Regions from separate parts of the Homo sapiens genome. Here all the other regions are linked to region 1. Evidence: promoter capture Hi-C in 16 types of primary human blood cells and fetal thymus (Javierre and others, 2016). All regions are on one chromosome and are shown on one strand. The core of a region is centred on a gene start or on the middle of the fragment in contact, and the rest is flanking DNA. Distances in the headings are between cores, read along the strand shown.

Evidence for each region. Contacts are between HindIII fragments. The CHiCAGO score rates a contact against its expected background, and 5 or more counts as called.
Region 2: a contact is called between a fragment that was not itself captured here and the fragment with the promoter of PRG4 in region 1, in 1 of 17 cell types (non-activated CD4 T cells). The highest score is 5.3, in non-activated CD4 T cells.
Region 3: a fragment that was not itself captured here is called in contact with the fragment with the promoter of PRG4 in region 1 in 1 of 17 cell types (total B cells); the score reaches 6.1 in total B cells.
Region 4: a fragment that was not itself captured here is called in contact with the fragment with the promoter of PRG4 in region 1 in 1 of 17 cell types (M2 macrophages); the score reaches 5.9 in M2 macrophages.

The regions. Positions count from the first base shown.
Region 1 is chr1:186,294,873-186,297,715 of GRCh38, reverse strand. It overlaps PRG4 (proteoglycan 4), which reads right to left and starts at 1,437. Exons shown (of 13, transcript NM_005807.6): 1 at 1,423-1,437; 2 at 765-870. The coding sequence starts at 840. The HindIII fragment of the contact is 3,679 bases long and covers 49-2,843 here.
Region 2 is chr1:185,562,718-185,565,560 of GRCh38, reverse strand. It overlaps LINC01350 (long intergenic non-protein coding RNA 1350), which reads left to right. Exons shown (of 4, transcript NR_110793.1): 3 at 2,233-2,393. The region is part of intron 1 of LOC107985239 (a long non-coding RNA gene); the gene reads right to left. Among named protein-coding and RNA genes, the nearest start is that of LINC01350, 64 kb to the left of the region's middle. The HindIII fragment of the contact is 2,664 bases long and covers 142-2,805 here.
Region 3 is chr1:186,986,586-186,989,428 of GRCh38, reverse strand. It overlaps PLA2G4A (phospholipase A2 group IVA), which reads right to left. Exons shown (of 18, transcript NM_024420.3): 18 at 448-1,052. The coding sequence ends at 921. Among named protein-coding and RNA genes, the nearest start is that of LINC01036, 100 kb to the left of the region's middle. The HindIII fragment of the contact is 231 bases long and covers 1,238-1,468 here.
Region 4 is chr1:185,702,133-185,704,975 of GRCh38, reverse strand. No RefSeq gene overlaps it. Among named protein-coding and RNA genes, the nearest start is that of HMCN1, 31 kb to the left of the region's middle. The HindIII fragment of the contact is 2,278 bases long and covers 294-2,571 here.

The DNA.
Region 1 (2,843 bases), core at 188-2,687:
ATCAAAGGGGAACAAAAGGAAAAGAAAAGAAAAGAAAAATCCAAAGCTTGGCATTGTTACTATTAATCCCCCTAGATGGCATGCTAGCATCTTTTACTAATGTGATTTCACTGAATGTACTTTAACAGTCTCTAAAAATGAGTAACAAGAACTATTCATCCAGGACCTGTTTTGGGAGAACTGTGAAAAGTTTAATGTTATAACACAAAATGACAGTCACATCTGTATATGTCCATACCTGGATAAATAGTTCTTGTAAGAAAAAGAGAACATTTTCAAGACTAATAAAATGCCATTTGAAACACTATAGTTTATTATAATATGGTATCTATGTCTAAATGATGCCAAAATAAGTTATTTATCAATAATTTATTTGATTTTAAAAAACAAATTGTTCAACATATAGGCAAAAATTACATGTTATCTAAATATTGTTCTTTTTTAGTTATTTTTATGATACTATATAGCTCCAGCATAATTTTATGATGAACTGTCTGCACTTTTTAAACTTTCGAGAGAACCATAGAAATAACAAGTACCAAAATTATTCTTTATACAAGCTCAAAACTCTCAAAAGGAGAAAAAGATGAGAATTCCAAAGCACTTACAAACAGGCTACATGTTATATATTATTTTAAGGTTGTACAGTATATTAAACTCAAGCAAATATAAATTTTTAGAAATATATTTCCGTTGTTATAAAAATCAAGACTGAATGATTAGCAATAGTTGTTAAATAAAAGTATGTTCGATGGTTAAGCTACCTTGAGATGAAACTTGCTGAATCACGAAAACAGACAGCAGCAACAACAGGTAAATGGGAAGTGTTTTCCATGCCATCGTTGTTTTCAGGTACCGTAGGTACCCTTGCTGAAAATAAAATAAAAGTATCAGAAAACAGCTCTTTCATCTCACCACTAACTTAGGCTTGCATTATACACATTTCAGTAACTTTAAAAATGTAACAATAATAAAACCATCCCATTCTTGAAACAAGACTTTAAATCAGCTTTAATTTTATAGAAAATATTTGGCCATTAGACTTAATCTTATGCAGAACAAATCAAGTCACCCTCAGCCACGTTATTGACAGTTTTAATTCTTAAGAAATCTCCAATATAGAATAGACTTATCTTAAAACTCTAGCCAAAGTATGGCATGTACTTAACAGTGCAAGGTTAAAATTTTATCTTAAGGAAAATAATAACCTGTGTCACAGAAATGTAATTTAATAAGCATCATGGAGTTACTGTTCCAACTTTTTCTTAATTCTCAATATAAATTCAAAGGCTTCCAACAGGTGTATTGCATAAACATAATCCTTTTCAAAAATTTCCAACTACTATCTTTACACATTTTTTTTCAAACACCTCTAATGAAAACACATTTAATTCTATGAAGCAAGTTAACTTTGACACTTACCCGTAAAGGATAGATGAGTTTATCCCACGTCCTGGGAGTCTTATATATCAGTGCAAATACAGTGGGATGAACCAATTAGTCCAAAGGTTAGACAAAATCAACAGTGACAACCTATGAAATCAAACTTTCCTCATTTATTGGAAAAGGGCCCAGACGACTAGACTTAGGCAACATCTGGAAAACACTTCCATTAAGCAAAATGACTACCACAAAATAAATTTAGATGTATTGGCCAGAGCACATTTCTAATTTCTAAGTGAAGTGAACAAATTGTCCTGAGATGGTAAATAGCTCTGGCAGACTTTGACTAGTATATTGAAGCAGCAACTTTAAAATATTCACATACTGGTATCATTTATTTCTTCTGCTTTCCAGTTAAATCTAGCAAAGGTAGCTTTGAAATTTACCTAGTGTTAGCTTGTGGCATACATTTTATATACTTATACCATTATATCAAATATACATTTCTTGAGTAGTTTCATTTTCTCTGAGCACAGAAAACATGCTCTCAGTTACCTACAGGTAGATTATTGACACTGGATTTTCTAGCTTCCTTTATTATTTTAAAAATCTGCTTAAAAAATGTATTGATATTTTCCTTAGATCCTTCCTTTAAGATAAGCATGTTTGGAAAAGGTCTTTTAAATTACTAATTTTGTTTCCTTCCCACAATGAAAATGTGAACCATCACCATTGCAGAGCTAAGTCAGCTCAGCCCAAGGCTTTACCCCACTTTCATACGGAATGTATCGGTGTAAAATCTTACCCACCAACATAAGGCTTCGCTCATGTCCTAGCACCTCCCTGAAACCTTTCCAGATCAAATTCCAATCACATCTAGAATTATAGTAAACAATTGTACTACGTTTTACTAAAATATCTCTTCATCTGTCTCACACCCCCAACAGACTATGATTTCCCTAAGGACAACCAACACCTATATGTTAGTCTATTGCCAACATACAGCCCAGTTGTTTCACCAATGTTATATGTTTAAAACATGCTCACGCCGGGTGCAGTGGCTCACCCCTGCAATCCCAGCACTTTGGGAGGCTGAGGTGGGCAGATCACCTGAGGTCAGGAGTTTGAGACCAGCCTGACCAACATGGTGAAACTCCCTCTCTACTAAAAATACAAAAAATTAGCCGGGTGTGGTGGCAGGCGCCTGTAATTCCAGTTACTCGGGAGGCTAAGGCAGGAGAATCACTTGAACCTGAGAGGCAGAGGTTGCAGTGAGCTGAGATCACGCCACCGCACACCAGCTTGGGCAACAAGAGCAAAACTCAGTCTCAAAAAAAAAAAAAGAAAAGAAAAAAAAGAAAACATGTTCAGTGAACCACATGGTTGTAGGCTGGATTCTGCTGTCTACTACTCATTTGGTAGGTACTGCATTTAATTCTCACAAAATGTCTTAAAGTTAA
Region 2 (2,843 bases), core at 224-2,723, 730 kb after region 1:
TCTGTGCTTGCATTCCCAACGTTGACATGAGGAATTATCAATGGGTTCCGGACATAATCAGCCACACGGCAGAGTGAATTCCAGGAGGTATGTGTCAGGCAGGATCCCATCAAACTCATTGCTTTCAATACTTCAAAAGCTTGTTTTAGAAACACCATTACGGAGAATTGCCTGAAGGATTGAAAATCCAGACATTCCACTGCATACTCTAAAATCTGTCTTTGGGTGGTTCCAGGCCAGCAGAGATTTTCATACCTAGACTGTCTCATTTAGTTCTTGCCATCTTTTGATGACTTTTAAAAATGTGTATATTCATACCTTACTTTGTTCTGTAAAGAATTTAAGATAGGAATTTTTATTGAATTGAGCTGTGAATTTATGCCATCAGCCTTTATCTGAGGAACATTATAGGAAGCACTTCTATGAAATGCCTGTCAAGATACTATTGAGAATGTGGCTCATTACATTTCGAAGTATCCTCCTTAGGAAAACCCACTGGAAAAACTTCCCTCTTGCCTTCATACAAAGAAGCATTGAGCTTGTCTTCTGGCACTGGCTTGTTGTATCTTATGGACACTGATTCACTTATTGGACCATGTTTTTCTCTAGGCACAAAGCCAACTGGGGGCCCTTGCCCATCCACCATACAGAACCTCTCAGCATGCATTTTGTGGATTCACTTCTAGATTTACCATTCTTTCCCTACCCCTATTTTCTCTGTATTCATAAATCTCCACTTTATACATTTTTAAATTTGTTAACGTATATAGTACACTAAGTAAATATACCACGGTGCAGAGTAGCACCTCTCCTGCCAGAGGATGGAGAGAGGCAATATACCCCGTAGGGGCTGGACACATATTCTACCCATTTAGATCCAGAAGGAAACTTGAGCCTCTCTTCTCATAGAGAAAGAGTAGGGTAAAATCACAGACCACCACTATCCATCAGACCACTCTCATCCATGGGAGGGTAACTTTTAGGGAAAGCATTTTGGAGTGTCATGTAATACCACCCAATTTTCCTATATACTCATAAGATTAAATACTCAGTACTTTTCAAAAATGAAAATAAGAAACAAAAGTTCATTGTTAAACCCCAATGTTTACTTTATCCCTTGCATACGATGAAAATAATCTACTTCCCTGAAGGAAAGTGCTGACTTTCTCTATTGGCTCTGTAAGTCCTGGAGCAGGTGGTCCCTGCAGCAGAGGGAACGGAATGAGAAGACCCTTACAGTAGCCAACTGACTATTCTAGAACTCCTGGGAGAACCATACCTCATTATTCACCTAGAATGGGCCCAGCTTGTTCTAATTTCATTTGGCTCCTTGCAGAAACACTCTTCATTGTCTAAAACTTTGGGTGGCTGTGAACTTCAGCTTTGCCCCTTAACTCTCCTCTGACCCTTTTCTTGACCCACTATTTTGCTCACTATATTTTTGCAATATACACTTGGCTTGGGCCACCAAAAAAACTCACCCCTGCCTGGTCCATGGCTACTCCCTTGAGCTCAGCTGAACAGCTCACCCTGGCTTTAAAACTGGAAGTCCCACATCCCTGGAAACTTCTCAGTCCTAGGCAAAGGAGGGATGGTTGGTCACCCTACTCCCAGCCCACACTGATCATGCAGTAAATCAATGGCAGAACCAGAACCTTATTTATTTTATTCCTTTATATATTATTATAAAGCTCATATAATAATAACATATGAAGGACTATAACAATTATATGTTATATAACATATATTATTAATTATATATAACATATTATTAATTATATATTTTGATATGCATATAATAAAATATACAGGAATATAATAGATAAGTATATTATATATAAAGGAATAAAAATATGTTTACAGAAATATACATAAACAAAATTTACATATGCATATATATTTTACAGTACATAACTTCTTAAAAGACAACACTGTAAGCAAATTTCACAGAATTAAGTTATTTAACTGTGTAAGAACAACATGGCAATATCCATAGCAAAATTTTAATCTCATTCTTTTCCCCCATGATCCTTCATGCTTCAGAAATGCCTCTGCTGCCTTTTACCACTGTGTGTTCAAGTAATAGGAATAAATGTCTAAAATTAGTCCAAAGAAAATGAATTAAGGAAACATATCTGTTATCTAAAAAATAAACTATGAATTCTAACACCCCCCAAATGATTTTAGGATTATCCAATTTTATAAAATCTCTCTCTCTCCTCCTTCCTTTAGTGTAAATAACAAGAGCTGCCTATAAATCTACCTCAGAAGACAAAGGGAAAAGCAAAACTCTGCCCAGGAAGACCTTACTTTACAAACCAGGTGACCAAATTTCTAAAACATCATTCCCGTAATCCCTGATCAACAGAAAGGAAGCTCTGGAAGCATGAATGGTCAGTACACACATCGTCCACAGGACTCACACACCACAAACTAGTCATTGATCCTTTTGACCCAATTTCAGAAAATATGTTTACATAGAGACACATATTTTTGCTATTTACTTTTTGAGCAACCAACAGGAAAACCTATCCACATATGTCCATTATGATCCTCTCTAATGAAGACTATCTCTTTATGTTGTTTAAACAAAAAGAAATTAATGCATGAGAATGTCAAAGTTCTGAGCTTTAAGTTTCTGTACTCAATATATTGAATAAAAGATATATGTAGTATACATTGGAATAGAAAGAGATTAACTCAGTGCGTCATCGAGCACCTAGTTCTGGGGGTGGTATAATCATTCTGTCATGTATGATGGATGCCTGGATAGATCTCAGGATTTTGAAAGTCTCAAGTTAAGCTTCTAGTTTATTCCTCTAAATCTCTAGGGCTTTAAATAA
Region 3 (2,843 bases), core at 104-2,603, 690 kb before region 1:
AAAAGTTTCAGCCAGGCGCGGTGGCTCACACCTGTAATCCCAGCGCTTTGGGAGGCTGGGGCGGGCAGATCAAGAGGTCAGGAGTTTGAGACCAGCCTGGCCAACATAGTGAAACCCCGTCTGTACTAAAAATCTAAAAATTGGCTGGGTGTGGTGGCGGGCACCTGTAGTCCCAGCTACTCGGGAGGCTGAGGCAGGGGAATCGCTTGAACCTGGGAGGCGGAGCTTGTGGTGAGCCAAGATCACACCACTGCACTCCAGCCTAGGTGACAGAGTGAGACTCTGTCTCACAAAAAAATTAATTAATTAATTAAATTAAATTAAAAGTTTCACACTTGAGTTTAGGATGAACAACTTTTGCGTTTGAAAGCAGTGAATATGAGAATCTTTCATAGCAATAGTCCAATATCTCATTAAAAATTAACAAAAAACTCAGTTATCTCATGCTTATTTTTATATTGATGTATTTATTTCATGTATGTATATATATGCATATATAAATAAAAATAGTGTTGTCTCATGGTATGAATAAATCTAGTCAGTGAATAACATTCATACATAATGCGAGGTCTTATTGAGATTGAACTGTTAAATATTTTAAAAGAAAAAAAATTTTTAAAAAGAACACACATAAGAAAGTTGGTGAGAAATGTTTAAAAATACAGTATATATCCCTACATTTGTATCAGGAAGTTCATACTGACTGAAAATGTAGCTAAGTATATCCTTACATAATCAACATCATTTGTCAACCTAACTTATAATAGTATTATTCTCATGCAGCTAAGTAACTGCAACTTTGAGTATCAGCCAGTCTCTCATGATCAGTACGACTATCTGTACTGTACTTTTAAATCCAGTTGTCATGGGATTGCAAACTGCCTCAGCATCAGAAACTGCTGCCATTTCCAGTACATGAACTATGCTTTGGGTTTACTTAGAAACTCCTTGTTGAAAAATCTTCTTGCCTCAACATTACTAAGGGAAACAGAGCAACGAGATGGATTCTGTCTTCTATATTCAATGCTTTCAACCATGGCTTCTTTTATCACCTGCAAATAGAGACAGAAGTTGTATAATTAGCGCTGCTATGAACTCATTTATATATTTTTTATTAAAATAAAAATCAAATGAATCTTTTTATTAGAGTATTCCTTTTGACATATATGAATAGAAATCTACGAGTCATGCATACACATTTAAATTCAACATCCCACCACTGCACTCTTGTTAAGCTTATATTCAGCTACTGTTCCTTCCCTCACCAGGGAAAGAAGGATTCTGGAAATGTTCTAGATTTTATGCTGATAAATTTGGGAATAAAGTGGTAGCATGGTAAAATTATGTTGGTTCTGCTCTTTGCCAAAAGGGGGATAACAGGGAAGAAACAAGTAATTACTAAATCTATAATTTATGTTCTTTATAATTAGTGGGCAAGTAGAAAAAGACCACCAGGAAAGTAAAAGCTTTTCCTAGTGGAGGAAGAAGGCATTGCTGGAGAATTGCCTTCCTTCCTCAACTGAAACAATACAGTTATAAAACATGAGCCTCCTCTATCTAGGAAACATCATGCTCTGTGATTTCATTGGTGAAAATGAATTACTACTTTTTATTCAGCATACATATATCCAATATATATTCTTTACATATACCCATGTTAATGGTAACCAGAAGAAAACACAGGAAACTACAACCTCTAAGAACTGCTATTTCAACTGTCATACACTGGTTTTGGTATGAAGTTAACCTAGTTAGAATTTGGGGAAAGAAGAGAACATTCAGAATTTGGTAGATGCAGTTATTGAAGAGCAGTGGAAATGGGCTTTGGAAGAAGGCCTGAATAGTAAATCTTGTCTCTGCTTCTGCTTCAGAACCTTGTTAAAATCAGGAAGACTCCATTTCCCAGGACAGTCCTCATTTCATCTCGATGACCAATGAGATAGATGTTTCTGGGCATCAGGAAACCGAGGCAAGTCACAGAGTTATTCCACAATTCCTTTTATTCTCTACCTCAGGGATTGTTAAGCAACATTAAGGTACAGTCCACGGGCTTTTCAGCCCCTTGCCACAGGTAGGAATACTTGGCAAGTCTGATCAGTTTAGGACGCTATGGCCTCCTCTCACTCACAACTGCTGTGGCCCACTTGGCCTTGGAGATGCATGCTCAGAGGGATTCTCCCATTACCACGTGCAAGCTCACTGGGCAAGCATGGCTCATTGCCTGAAGGAGATCATGTTTGCACCACTTAAACATGTGAGATCTAAATGGTGCAAACATGCAATTATTTTTCTGTGACTTTATGTCCCAGACACCCAACAAGCAAGGCTCTCTATTCTCTAATAGTAACTTTAAAAACGCAGTCAGATTTTGGAAAAAGGGAGCTATCACAGGAATGTGGTTCTTTTATATGCCTTATTTTAAAACGTAATATATGTAATTATCTTCTCGGGAAATGGGCTCAAACGTGAATGAGTCCGTTAAGGTAAAGCTGATATTTGCTGATCCCACTTTTCTTAAGAATAGGGAAACATAATTCTGTGATGACAAAAGATGCTTCAGATCTATGAAGGAGACTTGGACCAAAGGCTACCAGGCACAAACACTTCTTGGCTGTGTGAGATGGAGGGCAATTAGTGTCAATACTTGAGCCCATTTCTTCTTCTTTAAAATGGAAATAATGTACTAATTTGGGGTTTTGTGGGGATTGGAGATCATTTCTATAAAGTGCTTGGCACAATACCTGGTACATAAACATTCTACAACAGCTGTTACGCTTGTTATTTTTAAACTGACAATATGTGATGAAAATTGGGAACTCTAAATTAGAAGTGAAGCTATAAAG
Region 4 (2,843 bases), core at 183-2,682, 590 kb after region 1:
AAAATGAAAATAAAGTCTGGCTTGTGGAACAGATTATCCCAAAGGTAATGGTATCCTGTAGGATATTAACCAGAATTTTTTAATGCAGTGTAGCAATCTTATCCTGACATTCCTTTATTAAATTGCTTATAAATGCCTAAGTCCTCAAATGCTTTTGCAACCAGCATAAACATCTTACTGATTCCTTCTTTAATAGATAAGCTGAATAGAATCTTTGACTTGTTTATTTTATATTTGCATGCAACTCATGGTTTTCATTTTCTTAAAATTATGTTAGTAGCTTTGAGAAAGCTTAGTAGAAAAAATAATTACCATAGTTAATATTTTAGAAAGTGAAAAATTATTTAGCAACATGAATGATCACTTTCTAATTAATCTCTTATAGCAGCCTTTTCTATGTGTTTTCTCATACCTGAGCATTCTTGTGTTCAGGCCACTGGCATGAGCAAGTACAACTGCCACTTGCTGCAGCAAGATAAGTCGGCTGAAGTTCTAAAGTCTCTTATACAGCTGTATGAGTAATGAGTTCAAAAATCACTCTAACAATTGCTATTGGCTTCCCTTTCTTTGCTTATTCCAATCCTTATTAATGGTCTGAGAGATAAGGCTCCTGTTACCACATGCACACAATGTCTGGCTAGCATCGCACATACGAGATATGGTTTCATTCCAGTTTTCCTGCCACCAGGGGAAATAAACAACAAAGTTGGACTCTGAAGGAATGGGCTTGTTGGTTTAGCCCATTTTGCACCTTGTTAATGTCTTACTCATCCATATAGTGACCATCTGGCAACACTTGGAGCCAGATTTCTGCTTAATTAAGTCATGTGAATTATCAGAGGCTTACATACCCAAAATTTAGAAGAAACAAAGGTGTGGACAATTCTAATCTGAATTTATTATTGTGTGACTTATTCAAAGTCAGATGATGCATATTTTCATGGACAAAAAAGTTGAGGTATATGATGAATTCTATAGATTCAAAATAGTAAGAACAGAAAAGGTATAAAAGGGAAAGTTATTCTCTTCACAGAAGGATTCTCCATGGTAAAAAATAATTCATAAAAGACCTTTTAAGGAGCAAAACCCCCTAATACTCTAAACTTTTCTTTTTCTCAACACAAATGCTTAAAGCAGTGTGGTACATTAAGCAAGACTTTGGCACAATTAGTAGTGTGCCACCTTAGAGAAACCTATTCATCTCACTCGGATAGGATTTCCTTATCCAAGGAATAAAGAAGCAGACCTAGTAGAACTCTAAGACACCAGCAAGTTCCATTTTATGACTTACAGACAGCTTTTTGAGAGGACACATTACATAAAATAATATATTCCTGAAGTAATGTGAGGAAAACAATTGCCAGAGGATGTCCATAGGGTCAACTCATTTGACTTAAGGAGAAAGGACCATGTCCTGTGATAGATCTACTCATGCTGCTAACTCCTTTTGTCTAACAGACAGAATAGAAAAAGAACACCAAATGAAGCAAGTTTTAAGGGTCTTAATTAGAGCTTTACCAATGACTAGTTGTTTGGTCTTGGGCATGTCACTTTGCCTCTTACAAAATGAAGACTTAAACTAATTCTCTCTTCCAGCACTAATTTTCATTGTCTACTCAATCGAAAGGTATTTAGTTAGTTGCAGGGGTAGCTAGATCTAGCCTATATTTTCCATTTACTGACACTGCTAGTAGGCTTTAGACACATGAATCCCAGCTCTGATGCTTACAAGCCTTATAACTTTGGGCAAATCAATTAAATTTGTAGACCCTCAGCTTCCTCATCTGTAAAATGAGAACAAAGATGCTATCTATAGCATATATTTTAAAGATTAAATGGCTAAGTTATTTAAACTGCCTGATACGGTAACTAGTATGTAGTTTTCACTCAATAAGCAGTAGTTGTTTTCAATGTTACAGCCAAGTTATGGTAAGACTTCTGAGCTGAAGAAAAAATGTTGCATAATTATGTTTTAAACTCTATCTTCAAACTGTTTATACTCTTTTTGATTCAGTGCAACTCGCTTGTAAATTCAAGATACTCTGTCTAGAATTGAAATTAAATTTTGGCTGTCACAATAATTCTGTTTCATGAGTGTACAAAGATTTAATAATACGTTTGTAATATTTTATTAGCTGCAAATGGAAAATACTACATACCTGTCTGTGGCTTTTCATAGTATTTTTTTAAGTCACTAAGCTAAATGTTTTCATTGACAATTATATAGGATGACAATAAGAGAGGATTAGGGTTGAACTGTTGAAGAAGAATGTTCCCTAAGCAAACTGTAAAGTCTCTTCAGTTGAAATAAATGTTTCAAAATAATGTTTGCATAATGTCAGTATTAATATTAATTCAATGATGTATTATTGTTTATAGGCCCTGAAAAATGTGGGTGGTGTGGACTTTTAGAAGCCGATTTGAGTTTCAATTTTTAAAATTTAAGCATTAAGCCTAAGATCTCAAGAAATGTGAAATGCACATTAGCTAAGAATTGTCCAATTTTATAAATTGATTCATAAAAGTTTATTATGACTTTTGTCCAAAGTCCAAAATAAATAACTCTAAGCTTAACATTGGTAACATTTCAGCTTTAGTTACTGTATAGTTATTTTCATTTAAGAGTGTATCAGTAATTTATCACTCTCTAATGCCTGACTCTATTACGGAACTTACTACTGTTGTGAAGGGGAAAAAAAATCCCTCTTAAGTGCATTGTGTCCAAAGAACATTTAGATTTTAAGAATAAAATAAATCTTCAAAATCATAAAAACAGGTGGTGAAAATGACAATACTACAATTTTTTGAATATTTACCTCTTATTGAGCACTCACTATGAGTCA